2 separate regions of the Homo sapiens genome follow, and region 2 is linked to region 1. Evidence: promoter capture Hi-C in 16 types of primary human blood cells and fetal thymus (Javierre and others, 2016). All regions are on one chromosome and are shown on one strand. The core of a region is centred on a gene start or on the middle of the fragment in contact, and the rest is flanking DNA. Distances in the headings are between cores, read along the strand shown. Region 1 holds the start of RPL10 (ribosomal protein L10). Region 2 holds the start of PLXNB3 (plexin B3).

What was found. Contacts are between HindIII fragments. The CHiCAGO score rates a contact against its expected background, and 5 or more counts as called.
Region 2: the fragment with the promoter of PLXNB3 here is called in contact with the fragment with the promoter of RPL10 in region 1 in 2 of 17 cell types (total CD8 T cells and non-activated CD4 T cells); the score reaches 5.6 in total CD8 T cells.

What each region holds. Positions count from the first base shown.
Region 1 is chrX:154,392,848-154,400,456 of GRCh38, forward strand. It overlaps RPL10 (ribosomal protein L10), which reads left to right and starts at 5,530. Exons shown (of 7, transcript NM_006013.5): 1 at 5,530-5,547; 2 at 5,650-5,695; 3 at 6,491-6,549; 4 at 6,640-6,747; 5 at 6,956-7,094. The coding sequence starts at 5,673. LOC124905228 (a long non-coding RNA gene) reads right to left here and starts at 5,995. Exons shown (of 2, transcript XR_007068356.1): 1 at 4,738-5,995. SNORA70 (small nucleolar RNA, H/ACA box 70) reads left to right here and starts at 7,434; the gene lies at 7,434-7,568. RefSeq lists silencers at 4,573-4,752, 4,823-4,892 and enhancers at 4,895-5,440, 5,453-5,662, 5,985-6,530, 6,531-7,074, 7,075-7,609. The HindIII fragment of the contact is 9,726 bases long and covers 4,470-7,609 here.
Region 2 is chrX:153,758,983-153,765,880 of GRCh38, forward strand. It overlaps PLXNB3 (plexin B3), which reads left to right and starts at 5,267. Exons shown (of 36, transcript NM_005393.3): 1 at 5,267-5,322; 2 at 6,489-6,598. The coding sequence starts at 6,554. PLXNB3-AS1 (PLXNB3 antisense RNA 1) reads right to left here. Exons shown (of 3, transcript NR_199696.1): 2 at 4,728-4,867. The HindIII fragment of the contact is 7,823 bases long and covers 4,311-6,898 here.

The sequences.
Region 1 (7,609 bases), core at 4,280-6,779:
AAGTGATCTTCCTGTTTCAGCCTCCTGAGCTGCTGGGACCACAAGTGTGTGCCACCATCCCTGGCTTTTTTAGAAAACTTCTTTTTGTACAGACAGGGTCTCACTGTGTTGCCCAGGCTGGTCTTGAACCCCTGGGCTCAAGTCCTCCCTCCTTGGCCTCTCAAAGTGCTGGTTTTACAGATGTGTCCCACCTTGTGTGGCCTGCATTTAAAATTGTAAGAGACACTAGGGAATTGCCTCCCCTAAAGACCCTACCTTTGATACTGTCCGTCCCTCGCATTGTACCCTCAGCGTTTACCCACAGCCTCACCAGCACCTTTTGGGCTAACAGCTTTTTAGGTAGCTGAAAATTAGATGGGAGAACTGTAGCTTTTCGCTTTTTCCTTCTTCCCTGTTTCCTAGTCCTGTTCCCCTCCCTCCCAAAGGGGTCATTTAAAATGTGGTGTCATTTGGAATGTGTTTGTTCAATTGTATTTTAGTTTTCTGAGACAGGGCCTCGCTTTGTCACCCAGGCTGGAGTGCAGTGGTGTGATCATAGCTCACGGCAGCCTTGATGTCCCAGACTCAAGTGATCCTCCCACCTCAGCTTCTGGAGTAACTAGGACTACAGGCATGTGCCACCACGCCAGCTAATTTTATTTTTTTGTAGAGACGAGGTCTCACCCTGTTGCCCAGGTTGGTCTCCTATTTCTGGCTTCAAGCGATCTGCCCGTCTCGGCCTCCCAAAGTGCTTGGATGACAGGCGTGAGCCACTGCCCTGCACCTGTGGATTTTTTGTGTGTATGGTTTTGCCCACCGTAACTGTCCCTGTGCTGCATTCCTATTCTGCTGACTGCTTCCGTCATTCAACAGGGTTTCTCAGCTCTTTGTCTGTGGCCCTGGAGACGTACAGTTGACTCCTGTGCTCCTGCAGAGGATTTCAGAGCTTGGATGCAACACATTTGATCATTCCCACCCTGAGTGATGCAACCCCAGGGCTTCAGCTCCTGGTGTGCCACAAACCATGCCACGAAGGCCATGGCACGGAATGTGGCCTTAGCGAGAAGGGAGAATTGCTCTTGCTGAGGTTATCAAGGGGTAGGATTGCTGGGTTCAAGAACACTGATGTTTCATTTTCTTATGTTTGTTCTGTTCTTTTTTTTTTTTTTTTTTTGAAAGAGTCTCACTCTGTCACCCAGGCTGGAGTGTAGTGGCGCGATCTCGGCTCACTGCAACATTCACCTCCTGGGTTTAAGCAATTCTCCCATCTCAGCCTACCGAGTAGCTGGGACTAAAGGCGCACGCCAGCATGCCTGGCTAGTTTTTGCATTTTTAGTAGAGACGGGGTTTCACCGTGTTGGCCAGGCTGGTCTTGAACTCCGGACCTCAAGTGATCCCCCCGCCTCGGCCTCCCACAGTGCTGGGATGACAGGCGTGAGCCACCGCGCCTGGCTCCTTTCCCATTTTCTAAGGGACAGTCAGTCTCCTCCATACCATTTGTCACACAGCCTTTCCCCCATGATGGCACTGCCATACTCCCGCTAAATGCGCAGGCATCTGTGGTCTCCTCTGCACTTGTCCTTCCAGGGAACGATGCAGTGGGCTCCTTGCTTTGCATCTCGCCATACCTGGTGCACCTGCCAGCTCCCTTAGCAGGACCTTGCAGACAGTTTCAGTCATTCTTGGGCATTTTCTTCTCCATGTGAAGTTTCCCATCATCTTGTCCCGGACCATTAGACACCCACATCCCTGGCTTCCTGGGACTCTGGTGGCGTGATGGGAAGAGCCCACTTCTTAATATTGTTTTTTTCAAGAGGATCTCATTCTTAGTCCAGGTGGCAGGAATGGTTTCCCCTGCTGGCCTCAGCTCTGTTGGCAAGGGATACCTGCAGTCTGGGGCCTGGAGTTGGAGCGCTCCAGACACGGTCCCTTCCTTCCGGGAGTTTCTTTCTCGTGGGTGAGCCAGAAGCAAACACCTCATCCCACAGTTCTGAGGGCCTGGGTGGGGCCATCGTCCTGGTCCAGGTAAGAGACCATGGAGTCTGGCCAAGCACGTTGGCTCCTGCCTGTAATCCCCGCACTTTGGGTTAGGGTTAGGGCAGGAGGATCACTTGGCTCCAGCAGTTCAAGACCAGTCTGGGCAACCTAATAAGGCCCCATCTCTACAAAAGAAAAAAAAAATTATCCAGGCATGGTGGCGTGTGCCTGTAGTCCCAGCCGATTGGGAGGCTGAGGCAGGAGCATCTCTGGAGCCCAGGAGTTCGAGGCTGCAGTGAGTGTTGATCATGCCACTGCATTCCAGTCTGGGCAACGGAGCAAGACCCTGTCTCAATTAAAAAAAAAAAAAAGCCGGGCGTGGTGGCTCACACCTGTAATTCCAGCACATTGGGAGGCTGAGGCGGGCAGATCACCTGAGGTCAGGAGTTTGAGACCAGCCTGACCACACGGAGAAACCCTGTCTCTACTAAAAATACAAAATAAGCCAGGCATGGTGGCACATGCCTGTGATCCCAGCTACTCGGGAGGCTGAGGCAGGAGAATTGCTTGAACCCGGGAGGCAGAGGTTGCACTGAGCTGAGATCGTGCCATGGCACTCCAGCCTGGGCAACAAGAGCGAAACTCCATCTCAGAAAAAAAAAAAAAAAAAAAAAAAAGACAGTGGAGTCCTAGATGGCGAGGGTAGCAATGGAGAAACCCACTTCAATTTCTTTGAGCCAACAGTTGGAAGGATTCCCGTGGGAAGGTCAGGAGGGAGAGGAGCCAACAGGTGGAACTCCGACAGTTCCCCCGTCCTCACCTTGTAGGGCTGCAAGATTCCTTGGTGCCTGTCTGGGCTCCAGGGCCCCCACCCACCCCTGCAGGCTTATGTGCGGATCAGCAAGAGGCACTCTGCTCTCGGGGCAGGTACTCGGCTGGAGGCGAGGACACGGGAGGGATTTCAGCCCTCTCGCTCCCCAGGAAGATGTCCTTGTGCAGAGAACAGCCTGCACGACCTACTAGGGCACCCAGGATTAGGCTGTATCCTCCGTCTGCCCAAACTGGCTACAGAAAGCTCATTTTAACGCCCACTAGAGAGTGAGGAGACTGTAGGTGCAATTTCTTTTTTCTTTTTTTTCTGAGACAGATGAGTCTTGCTCTGTGGTCCCAGGCTGGAGTGCAGTGGTGTGATCTTGGCTCACTCAAACCTCCACCTCCCAGGTTCAAGCCAGATTCTCCTGCCTCAGCCTCCCGAGTAGCTGAGATTACAGGCATGCGCCACCATGCCCAGCTAATTTTTTTATATTTTTAGTAGAGACGTGGTTTCACCCTGTTGGCCAGGCTGGTCTCCAACTCCTGACCTCAATTGATCCACCCACCTCAGCCTCCCAAAGTGCTGGGATTATAGGCGTGAGCCACTGCACCCGCCCTGTAGGCAGATTTTTTTTTTTTTTTCTGAGATAGTTTCTCTCTGTAGACTAGGCTGGAGTGCAGTGGCATGATCTCGGCTCACTGCAACCTCTGTCTTCCGGGCTCAAGCAATTCTCCTGCCTCAGCCTCCCAAGTAGCTAGTATTACAGGTGTGTGCCACCACACCCGGCTCATTTTTGTATTTTTAGTAGACAGGGTTTCACCATGTTGGCCAGGTTGGCCTTGAACTCCTGACCTCAGGTAATCCGCCCGCCTCGGCCTCCCAAAGCGCTCGGATTACAGGCGTGAGCCACAGCGCCCGGCCATACACGAATTTTTTTGAGACAGTCTTGCTCTGTCGCCCAGGCTGGAGTACAGTGGTGTGATCTCAGCTCACTGCAATCTCTGCGTCCTGAGCTCAAGCGATCCTCCCACCTCAGCTGGGATTAGAGTGTGCCGCCACGCCTGGCTAATTTTTAAATATATATATATATATATATTTTTTTTTTTTTTTTTTTTTTTCTGAGACGGAGTCTCGCTCTGTCACCCAGGCTGGAGTGCAATGGCGTGGTCTCGGCTCACTGCAACCTCCGCCTCCCGGGTTCAAGCGATTCTCCTGCCTCAGCCTCCGAAGCAGCTGGGATTACAGGCACCAGCCAGCATGCCCAGCTAATTTTTGTATTTTTAGTAGAGACGGGGTTTCACCATGTTGGCCAGGCTGGTCTCGATCTGCTGACCTCATGATCCGCCCGCCTCGGCCTCCCAAAGTGCTGGAATTACAGGCGTGAGCCACTGCGCCCAGCCAATTTTTAGTTTTTAATTTTTGTAGAGGCGGTTTTTCGCCATGTTGTCCAGGTCTCAAATTCCTGGGCTCAAGTGATCCGCCCACCTCCGCCCCTCAAAGTGCTGAGATCACAGGCGTGAGCCACGGCACTCCGCCGCAATTCCTGACTTGTACTGCCCCAGTGGTGTTACAGCCTCGAACCCAGTTTCCAGACCTAAGTCACCGCCGGCATCCAGAGTCCCATGATGGAAAGGGAGGCTAGGTTCCCCTGGGAAGGACCTTGCACCACTGCTGCAAGTGCACCCCAGAAATCGTCCCAAGCTTTTCTCAAAGGGACCTGCAGCCATTTATAAAAGCGACATATCATCCTGGAAAACAGGTGCGCTCGAGCAGGATTTCCTCCCGTCCTTCCTGTCAAAGGACGGGAAGACTTTGTTACCCCACCGCGCCCCACCTGCAGAATGGTGGACAGATACCTCCAGATGCCACTTCCCCCAGGACGCCCGCCTGCTCTGCGCACCTCTCCCCGGATGCTGCCCCGTGGGCGGGTGGGGGCGGCCCTGCTTCCCCACGACCCCCAGACGCACCCGGAGGGACTCTTGAGCACAGTGGAGTGGGAAGGGCGAGGTGGGGCGGTGCCCAGGCGAGAGCGGCTCATGGGAGGCGGCGCCCGAGACGCAGCTGGTCGGGACGGTGCGGGTCAGGGTGGGCGGAGCGGGGCTAGAGATGCCCCGGGGTTTCCCAGGCCATGAGTCTCCGTGGAGATTTCTCCTCGACCTCTTCCCCGCGGCAATGTGCGAACCCTGGGTCTCCAGGAAACGGGGATACGGGGCATGGCTCCCAGCAAGGCCTGGTCCAGCCTCTCCGGTAGGGGAATGGGTCTCCCCCTCCGGCCTCCCGGGTTGACAAAGGAACGCGGGCCCAGATCCCCGTATGGCGCTTCACCGCCGGGGCCTCTAGCCTAGAAGGAGGCACGGAGCGCGTGTCCGAGACCCGTGCAAGCTCAGGGACACTCTCGCGGTCGCCGGGAGGCCCACCTAGGGTACTTTCCTTTTTTCCACTCTCAGAAATATACGTCTGTCACAGTTAACGGCAAAGCCTAGGGCAAGAGTTCTACGCCCAAGATGGCCAGCCGGAAGCGGGCTTCTCGCGACCATGTGGCGAAGCCCCATTCGTCAGCTGGCCGCCCGCGGCCCTGGTACCCGGTCACCTCTCTGATCTGCGCATGTGCTGGGCTACGCCCGGGCGCAAGCGCCAAGAGCGGCTGCGTCTATGGTCATGACGTCTGACAGAGCGTCCACCCGTCTTCGACAGGACTCTATGGTTCTTACGCGCGCAGACAGACCGCCTATATAAGCCATGCGCAGGCGGAGGAGCGCCTCTTTCCCTTCGGTGTGGTGAGTAAGCGCAGTTGTCGTCTCTTGCGGTGCCGTTGCTGGTTCTCACACCTTTTAGGTCTGTTCTCGTCTTCCGTTCCGACTCTCTCTTTTTCGTTGCAGCCACTGAAGATCCTGGTGTCGCCATGGGCCGCCGCCCCGCCCGTTGGTGAGTCTTGAATCCGTGTACTTTCACTGCTGGGAAACGGGCGGGGAAAGAAGTGCCTATGGCCGCTGAAAACAATTGTGGGGTGGAGCCTCCCCCGTGCGGCGGCCCTGTCTTGGGAACTGACCCTATGTTTTACACCTCCCGGCTATTTTTTAGTCTGCAATATTACTGTCTGTTCCTTCGTTCCCGTGTCGGTGTGGAAGCGACGGTTCCCTCGTATCTCTGCCTGTGTCCTGCAAGCTCACCGCATTTTCGGGCGCTAGATACGCTCTTGGGGCCTTTGTGTGCGTTCTCTGTCTTATTTCCGGGCGACGTGCCGCGTGCGTTGTCGGACGTGAAGGGCAGTCCGGGAAAAACGGGTGCGGCCGCCTCCTGTGTCCTACAGGGGGCGCCAGACGCATTTCCACTCGGCTTGGAGGTGGATTTAGTGCCACGTGCCCGAAAGTCTTAAATTGGGTGACCTGAGCTGTGCAATGATAATGCGGCGATTTTGTAGTACGCAGTGTCTTGAAGAGAGAATTTTTAACTAGGAAAGTTTGTTGCAAAGTGTTTATAGGAAGCGTAAGACAAAGTAACGGAAGATGGTGTCTGTTGTTTCTAGTCTTGGGTGTTGTCTGTGTTGCAGCAGCCAACTGTTGCTTTGTAGTTTATTTCCCCGAATGGAAACGGTTTAGAAGTGGACGTGCATTCCCCACCCTTTTCCCGTCCCTCGTTTGGGTTGTTCCTTGAGGGGCAAAGTGCCTGTTGGGCTTTCTGTGAACCTCACCTAACCTGTGTTTTTTCACTCCCCTGCAGTTACCGGTATTGTAAGAACAAGCCGTACCCAAAGTCTCGCTTCTGCCGAGGTGTCCCTGGTAAGTAGTGGAAGAGCCCCTGCACTGGTTGGCTCTGCGGACTCCGCGTCCGTCTGTGACACCCCCTGCACACTTACCCAATCCTTTTAGATGCCAAGATTCGCATTTTTGACCTGGGGCGGAAAAAGGCAAAAGTGGATGAGTTTCCGCTTTGTGGCCACATGGTGTCAGATGAATATGAGCAGCTGTCCTCTGAAGGTAAGGCAGGATTCTTTGTTCGTCACCCCCCAGTCCTTCCTCCGTGCTCCCTCAACCCCACCCACATACACTGCACTGGAATTGGGAGTTGATGAAACATGAGCCTTACAAAACTCAGCCAACACAGTTCCCCTGAGCTGGAGATAGTCGTGGTGAATGTTTCTCTATTATCTTCTCTCACTTTGCTGCTTTTCTTCTCCCTACCTAGCCCTGGAGGCTGCCCGAATTTGTGCCAATAAGTACATGGTAAAAAGTTGTGGCAAAGATGGCTTCCATATCCGGGTGCGGCTCCACCCCTTCCACGTCATCCGCATCAACAAGATGTTGTCCTGTGCTGGGGCTGACAGGTGAGCTTGGTCTGGGCCTTTTAAGGCAGTTGGAGTCTCTACATTATTAGGCTTGCATTATTTTATCAGAGCATAGAGGTGGCCCCAGTGACTCAGCCACTATGGCTACTAGAAAAGCCAGGCTGGCAAGTGACTTTCAGTGGTCACTCAGGACCCCTTCCTGCAGATACAAACAAAGCATGAGTAAGTCTTAGCAAGCTCTTCCCCACAGGTTAGGGGAAACACTGGTGATGGGAGTAGCTCTTCTTGCTTTTAGCTGAATGACAACCATCTTGCCAGCAGGTAGCTGAAGCTGGCAGAGGAGCCCAGTGGCGCCTTTTCAGTGGTTCTTGGGATGCTCCGCAGCCAATTAAGCCGACTGAGTTCCTTTCCTCATGGGGACCCAGTGTGCGATGGCTGCACACAGCAGCTTCCTTGGTAGTGTACGCAGCCTGTTGGTTGTATGGGTTGCTCTAAGGGACCTTGGAGACAGGCCTTTCAGGTGGATGTTCATGTTTCTGACCTTGCACTACCCC
Region 2 (6,898 bases), core at 4,017-6,516, 630 kb before region 1:
GGAAAAGGGCAGTCTTTTCAACAAATGGTATAGGGGAAACTTGATATCCACATGCAAAAGAATAAAGTTGGAGGCTGGGCATGGTGGCTCACACCTGTAATCCCAGTGCTTTGGGAAGCCAAGGTAGGAGGATTGATTGAGTCTGGGAATGGGAGACCAGCCTGGGCAAAGTAACAAGATCCCATCTCTACCAAAAACATTAAAAATTTGAGGCTGAAGCACAAAAATTGCTTGAACCCGGGAGGCAGAGGTTGCAGTGAGCTGAGATCACGCCACTGTACTCCAGCCTGGGTGACAAAGTGAGATCTGTCTCAAAAAAAAAAATTAAATTAAAAATTAGCTGGGCATGGTGGTGAATGCCTATAGTCCCAGCTACCCAGGAGGCTGAGGCAGGAGAATTGCTTGAGACCAGGAGTTTGAGGTTACAATGATTATGCCACTGCACCCCAGCCTGGGCAACAGAGCAAGACCTGTCTCAAAAAAAAAAAAAAAAAAGATGGCAAATTTTGTGTTATGTATTTTTTCCCACAATAAAAAAATTACTCAAGAAGAAACAGAAAACCTAAATGGTCCCATAATTATTACAGAAGTTGGATTCATTGTTTAAAATCTATAGGGGGACAGGCAGGAAGCTACAAAAACAAGGAAGGCCAGGCCAGATGCGGTGGCTCATGCCTGTAATCCCAGCACTTTGTGAGGCCGAGGCAGGCAGATCACCTGAGGTCAGGAGTTCAAGACCAGACTGGCCAACATGGCGAAACACCGTCTCTACTAAAAATACAAAACTTAGCTGGACGTGGTGGTGCATGCCTGCAGTCCCAGCTACTCGGGAGGCTGAGGCAGGAGAATCGCTTGCACCCAGGAGGCAGAGGTTGCAGTAAGCCAAGACTGTACCACTGCACTCCAGCCTGGGCAACAGAGTGAGACTCTGTCTCAAAACAACAACAAAACAAAACAAAACAAAACAAAAAAAACAAAGAAGAGAAAAGAAAAGAAACAAAACAAAAAACAGAAAATAAAAAACAAGGAAGGCCTAGATGGTTTTACAGATGATCTCCAGCAAACATGGAAGTAACTGATCATCTCCATCTTAGACTAACTGTTCCAGTGAACAGCTGAAAAAGGAAATACTGCCTCAACTCACTTTACGATGTCTTGATACCAAAACCAGACGAGGATAATAATACGAGGCTAAAAAAAAAAAAAAAAACCACCCAATCCAGAATTGTATATGAAAAAAATACATCACGCAAAGTTGAGTTTAGTCCAGAAAATACAAGAGTGGTTTAACATTTAAAAATGAATTAATGTAATTTGCCACATTAACAGATTAGAGGAGGAAAACCCTGTGATCATATTAATGCATTCAGAAAAAGCATTTTATAAAAATTCAACATATAGCACACTAGGAATGGGAGGGAGCTTTCTAAATCTGATAAACATATCTACCGAATGCTCCCTGCAAACATCATACTTAATAATGGAACACTGAGAATGCCTCCTATGCTTTTTTTTTTTTTTTTTTTTTTTTTTTGAGACAGAGTTTCGCTTTTGTTGCCCAGGCTGGAGTGCAATGGCTCGATCTTGGCTCACCGCAACCTCGGCCTCCTGGGTTCAAGCGAGTCTCCTGCCTCAGCCTCCCAAGTAGCTGGGATTACAAGCATGGGCCACCATGCTCGGCTAATTTTTTTGTATTTTTAGTAGAGACAGAGTTTCTCCATGTTGGTCAGGCTGGTCTCGAACTCCTGACCTCAGGTGATCCACCCACCTCGGCCTCCCAAAGTGCTGGGATTACAGGCGTGAGCCACCATGCCCAGCGCCTCCTATGCTTTCATTCAAAGGAAGTAAAAGCAAGAGAAAGCAAGTCCAGGGAAGTAAAGCAAGGAAACGAAATCAGCCGGGCACAGTGGCTCACGCCTGTAATCCTAGCACTTTGGGAGGCCAAGGCAGGTGGATCAGGAGTTCCAGATCAGCCTGGCCAACATGGTGAAACCCTGTGTCTGGTAAAGATACAAAAATTAGTCAGGCGTGGTGGTGGGTGCCTGTAGTCCCAGCTTCTTGGGAGGCTGAGGCAGGAGAACTGCTTGAACCAGGGAGGCGGAGGTTGCAGTGAGCCAAGATTGTGCCACTATACTCCAGCCTGGGTGACAGAGCCAGACTCTGCCTCAAAAAAAGAAATCAAAGCTAAAAAGACTGGAATAGAAGAAACAAAATGGTCATTACTTGCAGATGATAGGATTGTGTACGCAGAAAATCAAAAAGAATCCACAAAGAGAACCCAAACATAATTATTAGACTTAATATGAGAGTTTACAAGGTTACTTGATACATAGAAATCCATTGTTTTTCTATGTACCAGCAACACACAGTCTGAATGGGAATTCAAAAGAAGGTAGCCAGGCGCAGTGGCTCACAGGCTCACGGGCCAGCACTTTGGGAAGCCAAGGCGGGAGGGCCGCTTGAGTCCAGGAGTTTGAGACCAGCCTGGGCAACATAGCGAGACCCTGTCTCTACAAAAAAATTACAAAATTAGCCAGGCACTGTGGCGCCTGCCTGTAGTCCCAGGTGTTTGGGAGGCTAAGGTGGGAGGATCACTTGAGCCCAGGAGGCTTCAGTGAGCCATGATTGCGCCAATGCACCCCAGCCTGCACGACAGAGCGAGACCCCGTCTCAAAAAAAGAAATCAGATTGATAAATGCTATGATATTAAAATTAAGACTTTCTGTTTATCACATGATACATCAGCAAACTGAGAAGACAAGTAACAGGTAGGCCGAAGACATACACCCCAGGGATTGGTGTGGAAAATACAGAACACCTGCAAAGTGTAAGCCAAGACATGCACGGGCATTTGACAGAAGAAATGAAAAGTGCTGCAATATGGCCGGTGGTCAAGGAATGCCGATTCAAAACCCAGCAGGGCACCATTTCACACCCACTGTATGCGCAGAAACTCTCAAGTCTGCTCTCTGGTGTACGTGAAGACGTGGTGCAGCAGTGGCAGTGGGGGTGTCCGCTGGGATGCCAGCATGGAGAGCTACGTCTTCAGCCCAGCAAACGTGAAGCCCACGTCCCACTGACCCAACGAGTCCCCTTCCAGCATTGAGAAGCCTGGCACACAGCAAGGAGACGACACCAGATCAGTTGACGCTGCCTTCCCATCCCTTGGTGAGGGGACCCGGCCATTGCAGGATAAATCCAGCACGACTCCCCTGACATAAGATGTTCCGGTTCCCCAAACCAGCCTAGATCCTTTCTGGTTACACCAGCTTCAGACCAGGGGCTGCCATAGCCACGCCTCTTATCTGCTCAGAAAGCGTAGAAGGTGCATATGCAGGCCATATACACACATATTTATGAAAATGGTGCTGCCTGTGGATGGATTTATTTTCTTTTTTCTTTCTTTCTTTTCTTTTTTTTTTAAAGACAGAGTCTTGCACTGTCACCCAGGCTAGAGTGCAATGGCACCATCACGGCTCACTGCAGGCACCAACTCCCAGGCTCAGGCGATCCTCCCACTTCAGCCTCCCAAGTAGCTGGGACTACAGGCTCGCACCACCATGCCTGGCTAATTTTTAAATTTTTTTATAGAGATGGGGGTCTCACTATGTTGCCCATGCTGGTCTAGAACTCCTGGGCCCAAGTGATCCTGCTGCCTTAGGCTCCCAAAGTGCTGGGATTACAGGCGGGAGCCACGACGCCCAGCCTGATTTATTTTCTTCTGTGGAAAGGAAGGAGAAACCCATTCCCCATGCCAGATTGCAGGCGTCTGTCTCATCCGGGGCCAGCAAGGACATGTGTGTGTGTGTTGGGGTAGGCATGGGGGGAAGGACAGGGAGAGGGAGAGAGGCCAGCTGGCTCCCCCAAGCCTCCCCTCCTGGAGCTTCTAAATCCCTCCCTGGCTCCTTCAAGGCTGCCTGGCCTTCCTGTTGGGGAGAGACCCCTCGCCGGCTGCTCACTCGCTTTTTGGTGGTCCTTCCCACGGGCCTGCCTGGTCTGCCTCCACATCCTCAGCGGCTGCAGGTGAGAAGCTGTGGATCTGGGGCCCAGTGGTCCAGAGCGTGGCCCGTGCCAGAATGCCCAGGTTCAAATCCCATCTCTGTGGAATGCACTCTGAAGAAACGACGTCAGGTCATGGCCCTGGGCAAGTTACCCACCTCTGTGCCCCATTTCTCTCCATGCAGGTTGGAAAGAATGACACAGCTGCTCAGGGAAGCACCCATACCCCGAGTCTGCTGGGCCTTTGAGCTCCAGGGCCAACACCTGGCCCTATACCCTGGCCGCCCCCAGGGCTCCAGCCACCTGAGCCAAGCTTCTCACCCCCAGGCCTCCCCAGCCCCATCACCATTTCCTCCTCCCTCATGGGCCCCTCAGTCTTACCGTCCTCCCACTTCCGCCAGCCCCTCTGTGGATGGCCCTGCCACAGGGGGAACAGTGCCCCAGCAGAAAAGCCCCAGGGTCGCCTGGATTCTCCTGCCTTCGCCTCCTGCCCTGGGTCCAACGCACAGTCTTCAGAATGCTGCCTCCCCAGAGCGCCTCTAGAACGCGCCCGCCTCTCTCCATGCCCATGACCACCACTGGACCAGGCCTCCCCACATTCTCTGCCCCAGTGCCACCAGCTTGCAGTTGCCCATGGCGAGACAAGTTCAAGTTCTCAAGCCTGGCCACAAAGACCCCACCTGATTTGCTGACCTCCGCCACACCCTGGGAGACGGCCCTTGACCAACCTTGTGTTCCAGTCGGTGGGAAACACTGGTTTTTCCTCAACGCCACGTGGGCATGTCACGTCCAGGCCTGGCCTGGGGTAGGCCTCAGCTCCATCTCCTGCCCAACGCCTGCCAAGGTTCATGGTTCAAGGTCATGTAGCCTGACGGTTAAGTGAAGGGGCCCTGTGATTGACTCAGCCTTGCCACATACTAGCTGTGTGACTTTATTCAAGTTTCCTAACCTCCTGTGCCTCAGTTTCCCAACCTGTGTTTGTTTCTGGATGGTGCCAGTGCCAAGCCCAAGCCTGGCATCCAGTAGGTGCTTCGTGCCAGGTTATGGAATGCCCACCCAATAGGAGGGCGCTGCCGTCTCTCACCTGCCAGGTGCCCACGGTCAGTACTCCATCATGCCCGCTGCGGCCAGCAGAGGGCAGCAACATCCTGCCCTGTGCCATTGGGCAAAGGGGCGGGCGGAGAGAGGCTGGGCTGCCTGGCCGGGCTTGTTGGGATGAGTCGGACTGGGCACGATTGCATTGTGGGGAGGGAGGCTGGGGCTCTGTGAGACGTGCTCCTGGCACCGCCAGCTGCTACTTGGCCCTCGCCGGTGGCCCACCAGGTAGGCAAGAGCTGGGGCAGGCTTGGGCTTGGGCTTGGGGTGCAGGGGCTACCAGCCTCAGGGCAAGGCATCAGGGTCTCAGGGCCAACTGGCTGGGGTCAGGCAAGAGCGCTCGGGTGTCGGCCCAGCCTGACGACGGCACTAGGTGTCTGGGAGCACGGTGTCCCCCAAGTGGTAGCCCTGGGGTTAGGAGGTGGGGAACCATGTTTCTTCCCCGAAATGGGAAAGCCAACGCCAGCCTCGGGCAGGGTACAGGGTAGAGAGGCTGCCCGCCTGGCTCCCCACCCCCACAGCCACCCAACTGGCCCAGCCAGGTGACAGCAGCCCACTGCCACCTTGCCCTGGAGCCTACTGCTGCCGTGCTGTGGGGGAGGCAGAGACCCCATCCCCAGTGCACCTGCTCCTGTGCCACTGGCCAGGGTGGCCTGTGAGGGTGACAGGGGGTCTAGCTGCTAGGTGCCCCTCCCTTCCCCATCCCCTGCATGGATGGCATCTAGGCCAGCAGGACGGTGCTTCAGAGGGTGGGGTGGACAGCCCCGGCCTGTGGACCCTCTGCCTCAGCCCATCTCAAGCAGCCTCCTCCCGTGGTCCTGCTCGCTGCCACCATGCTGTACCTGGCACCACTTCACCAGTCCCCAGGGGCAGGGCTGGGCTGGGGGTGTGGAGGAAGATCTTTTGGACAAAGGCAGGCATTGAGGGCCAGGACTGGCACTTCACCCAGGCCCCAAGGCTACCAGCCGGCATTTGCAGGGGCTCCAAGGTCCACCCCGTGCCCTTCACAGGGACCCGGGGAGCCAGGGAGGGGCATGCTTAGTGACACAGGGGTTGCAGGGCCAGAGGGGGAGGGCTGGCTGGAGGAAACCCCGGCCCTTTGTCCCCGGATCCCGGGGGTGGCTCCCTGAGGGTGGGAAGTGGCAAGGAGCCCCCTGTCCAGAACAGCCCAGTGGGGGTGACAGCACTAGCGAGTGGGGCCCTGGCCTGGCCTCTGGACAGAGGGAACATTGTTGTGGTGGAGGCAGGGCTGCCTTGGCCTGGCCACTATTGACAAAGCTGCCAGCTGTGAGGGAGCCCGGTCGCTAGGCCCTGGGCGCCACCCCCACCGCCGCCCCTCCTTCCCCAGGCCAGCTCGAATGGGGCTGAGCCTCGACTGTCTCCCTCCCACTCAGGACAATGCCCCCCCGCAGCCATCTCATGCCCATCGCCACTGCCCTGGGGCAGCTGAACTGAGCGTATGTGCCACGCCGCCCAGGAGACCCCTCTGCTGCACCACTTCATGGTAAGTGCCCAGGCCCGGTGTCCCCAGAAATGTTCCTGGGAGGGGCAGGGTAGGGCAGGATGGCTGTGGCCAGGCCCAGGACATACAGGCTGCAGCCTCCCTCATGGCAGACACTGCCCCAGATAGCCCGGGGTCCGCAGGAAGTGTCCGTGCTCTTCCTGCCTGTGTTCCTGAGATAAGCGGCTCCTGGGCCTTCCTCCAGGCGCTGCTCTGCCCTGAGTCGCAGCGGCCCCACTCCTGGTCGGCATGTGACCACACACCCAGGGCAGCATCTCTCTGTGGAGGGCAGGAGGGGCCAGA